Linked DNA regions of Homo sapiens: region 2 is linked to region 1. The links are contacts of gene promoters, found by promoter capture Hi-C in human tissues and cell types (Jung and others, 2019). All regions are on one chromosome and are shown on one strand. The core of a region is centred on a gene start or on the middle of the fragment in contact, and the rest is flanking DNA. Distances in the headings are between cores, read along the strand shown. Region 1 holds the start of CSTB (cystatin B). Region 2 overlaps CFAP410 (cilia and flagella associated protein 410).

Region 1 (2,700 bases), core at 1-2,500:
TTCCAGCACTTTGGGAGCCCGAGGCAGGTGGATCACGAGGTCAGGAGTTCGAGACCAGCCTGGCCAATATGGTGAAACCCCGTCTCTACTAAAAACACAAAAATTAGCTGCGCATGAAGGCGCGCGCCTGTAGTCCCAGCTACTCGGGAGGCCGAGGCAGGAGAATGGTGTGAACCCCGGAGGCGGAGCTTGCAGTGAGCCGAGATTGCGCCACTGCACTCCAGCCTAGGCGACAGATCCAGACTCCGTCTCAAAAAAAAAAAAAAAAAGGCCGGGCGCAGTGGCTCACACCTGTAATCCCAGCACTTTGGGAGGCCAAGGCGGGTGGATCACAAGGTCAGGAGATCGAGACCATCCTGGCTAACACAGTGAAACCCCGTCTCTACTAAAAATACAAAAATTAGCCAGGTGTGGTGGCGGGCGCCTGTAGTCCCAGCTACTCGGGAGGCTGAGGCAGGAGAATGGCGTGAACCCGGGAGGCGGAGCCTGCAGTAAGCCGAGATCGCGCCACTGCACTCCAGCCTGGGAGACAGAGCGAGACTCCGTCTCAAAAAAAAAAAAAAAAAAAAAAAAAGAAAAGAAAAGGAAAGAAAGAAAAGAAATCCTAAAACGCAAATTCCACCAGAGAACCCTGCCTTCTTCTCATCCCTCTGATCTACCCCCTGCCCCCACCCAGCCTGGAGCGCGTGGGCGCCGTCTCCCCCTCCCTGGGCCCCTCTGTCCACCCCCTTCAGCCTTCAGTGTTCTCGGTCACAAGCGGTGATGTCCACTGCAGCCCGCACACCTGCTCCCGCGGGGCCGGGACCCCTGACCCCTGACCCCTGCAGCGCTGCGCCCCGCCCTCCCTCGTGCGCGGCCCGGACCCCGCCACCCTGCAGGATTGCGCCTACTCCGACTGCCCCTTCCCTATCGTCCCACCCTGCGCGCCCAACCCACCGGCGACACCCGGCCGCGCCCCCGCCCCGGTCCGTGTGACTCGGCGCCCGGAAAGACGATACCAGCCCCGGGAGGGGGGCGCTCCCTCCCGACACCAGCGCTGGGCGCGGAGACCCAGCCTGCGGCGAGTGGTGGCCAGGTTCCCCGCCCCGCGCCCCGCCCCGCGCCCCGCCCCGCGCGTCCCTTCTTGCGGGGCCACCGCGACCCCGCAGGGGACTCCGAAGCCAAAGTGCCTCCTCCCCGCCCCTTGGTTCCGCCCGCGCGTCACGTGACCCCAGCGCCTACTTGGGCTGAGGAGCCGCCGCGTCCCCTCGCCGAGTCCCCTCGCCAGATTCCCTCCGTCGCCGCCAAGATGATGTGCGGGGCGCCCTCCGCCACGCAGCCGGCCACCGCCGAGACCCAGCACATCGCCGACCAGGTGGGTGGGCCGCGGGGACGGGGCCGGCCCGGAGTCCTGCCTTAGCCTCAGGGCGCGGCCGCGGCTCCTGGAGCGAAAGAAGCCGCTTTGGCCCCGCTGCGCACCCCTGGGCTGGCCCGGGCTGTGGCCGTGAGAGGCCTCCCTCCGCTCGGGCGCTGCGCGCGAGTGAGCAGCGGGGGGCCGCGCCTGGGGCGCCGCTGGGGAGACATTGGGCTCCGCTGAATACAGCAAGGGCGAGTGGGAATTGATAGCCCGGAGCAGGGTGCGGTCCCTGCATGGACAGTCTCTGAGAGGAAACCCCAGGGATGAGGCGCTTCTGGTTTCAGGCAGGCAGGGTGATCGGGCGTCGCCGGCGATGGCGCAGGTGAGCAGCCGGCTCCGATCTCCACGGTGATCCGATAGCAAGCGGGTGGGAAGGGTCTGGCTAAACTGACTTAGCCAGGCTTCTTGCTAAAAGTGGATTTTACAAGGAAGTGCGCAGGTGGCCTAGGCGCTTCAGGAGCCCGACTACAGTTTGGCCAAGCAAGAATCTTTGTCAATATCCTCATCTAGTTCGGGAAAAAAATCATGAGAGAGAGTGCAAGAGGTCCCCAGTGATAAGGCACATGGGTTAAAAACTTAAGTGTATCTGCATAAAAGGTCCACAGGTTTCTTTACATGCTTCCGATTCTAGCACTGTTTCAAACTGTAAGTCTAAATAAAAAGTTAAAACACAGAAAAACAAGATAAAAACCGGGCTGGGTTGCAGATGGCAACCTTCCCTGTGTCTCGGTTTCCTCGTCTGTAAAATGGACGTCCTGTTGCTCTGCGCCTGCCAGAAGATTCTGGAGGGGCTGAAATGAGCAGGTCATCTGTGCAAGAAGCCCCCTCCGGTGGAGCACAGGCCAGGCCCGCCTCGCTGTCATGGTTGGTGACCGACGGGATGCCCCAAGCAAGAACAGGTCCAGGCGATGCTGAGGCCTGTGTTTTTTTTTTTTGTTTTTGAGACTCAGTCTCACTCTTGCCCAGGGTGGAGTGCAGTGGCACAATCTCGGCCCACTGCAACCTCCGCTTCCCAGGTTCAAGGGATTCTCCTGCCTTAGCCTCCCGAGTAGCTGGGATTGCAGGTGCTCGCCACCACGCCCAGCTAATTTTTGTATTTTTAGTAGAAACGGGGTTTTGCCATTTGGCTAGGCTGGTCTCAAACTCCTGACCTCAAGTGATCCGCCCACCTCAGCCTCCCAAAGTTCTGGGATTACATCCTTGAGCCACCGTACCCAGCTGGAACTGTTTTTTTCTACTTTATTATTAGGCTGACAGTTTAAATGTCCCTTCAGTTGTAAGAGACAATTGTGTGAAGAGCCAGT
Region 2 (3,599 bases), core at 583-3,082, 560 kb before region 1:
CCACAGGGAGATGAGGAGGAGATGGAGCCCGAGTCCAGAGGTTGAGCAGGGGTGCGCGTGCCCGCCCAGAGGTTGAGCGGGGGGGGGGGGGGGGTGCGCGTGCCCGCCCAGAGGTTGAGGGGGGGTGCGCGTGCCTGCCGCGGGGCTCGTTTCACTAGTCAGGCGACACAGTGAGGCTGGGATTTCAGGCCTGCCTCCGAAAGGCTTACCTGACAGGGAAACGTGGAGCTTGTGGTTCCCACGGTGGCAGGAAGCTTGGGGCGGGGCTGTGGATCCAGCCCTATCCCTGCCGCTCACTGAGTCACCCAGGGGCCACAGGGCCTCCGAGCATCAGGCCGCTCGTGTGTGGGGCCATTTCTGTCACATCTCGGGAGGGACAGGACCCCAGGGGTGTTGACCGAGCTCAGGTGCGTGGTGCCTGCACGCCTGACTGCACTGGAGCGGAGCAGGAAGCCTCGAGGCCGCGGACGCGGTCGGTACATCACGCTGCTGCCTGTGCCTGAGGCAGACCCCATCCTGGAAAGAGTCCCACAGCCGGAGTTTTGCTCTTGGTAAAATGGGGCGGCCTCATAGCTAGGAGCTGCATGAGACCTGGGAAACCCCGAGTGAAGGGATGGCATGGGGAGGGGGGCTCAGGACGGCAGGCTGCCCATGGGGGCCTGGTGACCGCCCTTCTGAGGCGCCTGCCGGACGCGAGTGCAGCCCTCCAGGCAGGGGGCCCTGGCTCCGCGCCTTTGAGGGCCTGCGGGAGCGGCTCCGCGTGTTCGCTTGTGGAGGGGACGGACCCCACGCTGCAGGGTAAAGCCTGCAGGTCCCCGCTCCAGGCCTGCTGTTTCTCTTCTCTGACGCGTCCACGTTCTGTAGAATGGAAATGAGGCCCATCCCCAGTGTTGCCGCCCTCAAGTGGGGGTTTGGAAGGTCCGTGCTCACTCCCATGTCACGTGGAGCTGGCTCCTAGTTTTTGCCATGAGTTTTTCTGGCCGCTCCCTGCTTTGGGGCAACATGATATGTCCCCTGAGAGGCCTTAATTTTCCTCACCTGTGAAGGAGGGCCACATCCCCCACCTCCCGCACTCTAGCGCCCTGAGGAGCTGATGTGGAGCGTCGGGCCAAGGGGCTGTTGCTGGTGGGGTCCACCCCAGTCCGCCTTTGAGTTCAGGGCCTGGCCTTCCTACAGCTCTCTCCTCGGCCCAGGTCCTGCTGCACGTGACTTGTGACATCCGATTTAGGCTTCTCAGGAGAGGGCAGGGACACAGGTCCCATGAGTGCCTTTTACTGGGGGTGGGGATTGAGAGGTGGCCCTGGGGGCCCTGGCCACGTCCCTCGCTGACTGTGCTGGTCTCCGTGCAGTGTCAACAGCATCTCCACCCTGGAGCCTGTGAGCCGGTGCCAGCGCCTGAGTGAGCTGTACCTGCGGAGGAACCGCATCCCCAGCCTGGCTGAGCTCTTCTACCTGAAGGGGCTGCCGCGTCTGCGGGTGCTGTGGCTGGCCGAGAACCCGTGCTGCGGCACCAGCCCCCACCGCTACCGCATGACCGTGCTGCGCACCCTGCCGCGCCTACAGAAGCTGGACAACCAGGGTAGGTGGCCGCAGCGGAGTCACCGGCCCTCCCAAAACAATCCCTGGAAGGGGATGTCCCCAGCCCTCTTTTCTCTTCTCCTTTTCTGCAAATACCTGGTCTGGCGGGACATAGATGTGTCCTGTGAAGTCTCCTCCAGAGGCTGTTCCCCTGGCTTCTGTGTCTCCTCTTGATCCCGCCACCCGAATGCAGCAGCGCAGCGTAGGGTCCCTCCTGGGACTGACAGTTTGGGTATCCCCCAACGACCGCAGGACCTGGTAGCAAAGCAAAAGGGTTCCTTCTTTTGCTTCTGTGAGTAGCAGCCCTGCTCTGACCATCGCCATGCGCCATGGCGAGCGGGGGCGTCAGTATCTGGCAAGCAGCATCGCACTGGTCCACAGGGACTGGGCAGGCTCCACGGGCCACTGTGAACCTAGGGTGGCGGTGCCATCGCGCCCCTGCCGTGGGGAGGGGCCGTCCCAGCACCGCAGTGCCTGCTGCTGCGCTCCACCTATTGGAGGCACTCGTGCCTCCTCTAGCCAGCGCCAGCACCGACACAGTTTTCCAGGCTGTGGTTTCATGCTGTTTGTTCATCCTTGGCATTCTCAGCACACTAGTGTCTCATCCTTGTCAGGTATACAGACACCACTATTTTCTCCCAGACAATTTTATTGATATTAATAATATAAACTTCAGGGAAATTGATATATGAGAGAAATGGAATAAATTCAATATGGTCTGTTCCTTTTTCTATTGTGTCTTAGTTGAGGTTTTGAGGAGTATTTGCTTCTGGCCAAGGCTGGTGTTGAGATTCCTGAGCAGCCCTCCACCATCTGTTGTGTGTCAGCCTGTGCCAGGCTGGGGATGGGACAGTGAGGAACCGGCTGCTACTCTGGGAGTTGTCCCTGGAGGTGGATACACGTGCATGCATTTCACAAGCAGACTGTGCCTGAAGCCACAGTGAGGACGGGAGCTGCAGTGCATGTGGCCTGCACGTGGGTGAGGCCACTCATGCTGTCTTCTGTCTTTCATCCCAAAGCTGTGACGGAGGAGGAGCTGTCCCGTGCACTGAGTGAGGGAGAGGAGATCACTGCGGCCCCAGAGAGAGAGGGCACAGGCCACGGCGGCCCCAAGCTATGCTGCACACTGAGCTCCCTCAGCTCCGCTGCTGAGACTGGCCGGGACCCGCTGGACAGCGAGGAGGAGGCAACGTGAGGCTGGAGGGCAGCGGGGACTCCGCAGCCCATCCCTGTCCCCCAGGGTCCTCCCACGGGGAGTGAATGGGGCTTCCCGTGAGCTGCGTCTCTGGGAAGTGAGGGACAGGGATTATCCGGGGGGAGTGTCTGTTCTCATCCATATTCTCTGGGAGTGACTCAGTGCCCAGGTAGTGATTTCAGTGGCAGGTCCATGTTTTGCCCAACAGCGGATGTGCCAGGGAGCAGGAGAGGGGGTGAGCCAGGCCCCGTGCCCTGGCACAGAGAAGGCTCACAGCACCAGAGCTCGTGAGGTGCAGGGAGCCCCTGGTGGGGGGGGTGGCCTAGGGCCACAGTGACTGGAATGGTTTGTGGGCACGGCCATCAGTGCCCGTATGGCCTTGGGCCTGGGGGCCGTGGAGGGGCCACAGGGCTGACTCTGCAGTGAGACGCCGGCGCCTCCCAGGGCAGTTGGCAGCGGGTCACGAACGCATTTGACAGAAGCTGGGCACTTCTCTCCTGCTTGGCAGATCACACCCGCTGCTGGTGCCTGTGGTGGGGGCATCGGGATGTGATCTCTGTTAGGCATCTGCCATCCGGCACAGGGCCTGACCCCATGGTCAGGAGCTCTCCCCCGGCATTTGTGTGTTCGGGTGCCCCCCACCCTGCCCCTGAAGCCCTGGGTGGAAGGTGTTACAGCTGGGGAGCCCCAGGGTGCCGGGAGGGCGCCCCACAGGTGAAGTAAGTGCCGGGCTCTCCAGGAGCTGCCATCTGTAGCCCCTGACCTCCCAGGAGTTGCCTCCCTTCTCTTGCCCCCGTGTGCCAGGTGGGATTTGTATGAGCCCCTC

The links. The method cuts DNA at HindIII sites, captures the fragments that hold promoters and counts their contacts. A contact is called where the count stands out against the background at its distance.
Region 2: a contact is called between a fragment that was not itself captured here and the fragment with the promoter of CSTB in region 1, in 1 of the 25 tissues and cell types used here (dorsolateral prefrontal cortex).

Annotation. Positions count from the first base shown.
Region 1 is chr21:43,774,858-43,777,557 of GRCh38, reverse strand. It overlaps CSTB (cystatin B), which reads left to right and starts at 1,250. Exons shown (of 3, transcript NM_000100.4): 1 at 1,250-1,354. The coding sequence starts at 1,289. RefSeq lists a silencer at 672-1,671. The HindIII fragment of the contact is 5,981 bases long and covers 1-2,700 here.
Region 2 is chr21:44,331,013-44,334,611 of GRCh38, reverse strand. CFAP410 (cilia and flagella associated protein 410) reads left to right here. Exons shown (of 7, transcript NM_004928.3): 4 at 1,350-1,579; 5 at 2,598-2,769. Among named protein-coding and RNA genes, the nearest start is that of CFAP410, 6.6 kb to the left of the region's middle. RefSeq lists enhancers at 2,243-2,742, 2,743-3,244. The HindIII fragment of the contact is 7,900 bases long and covers 1-3,599 here.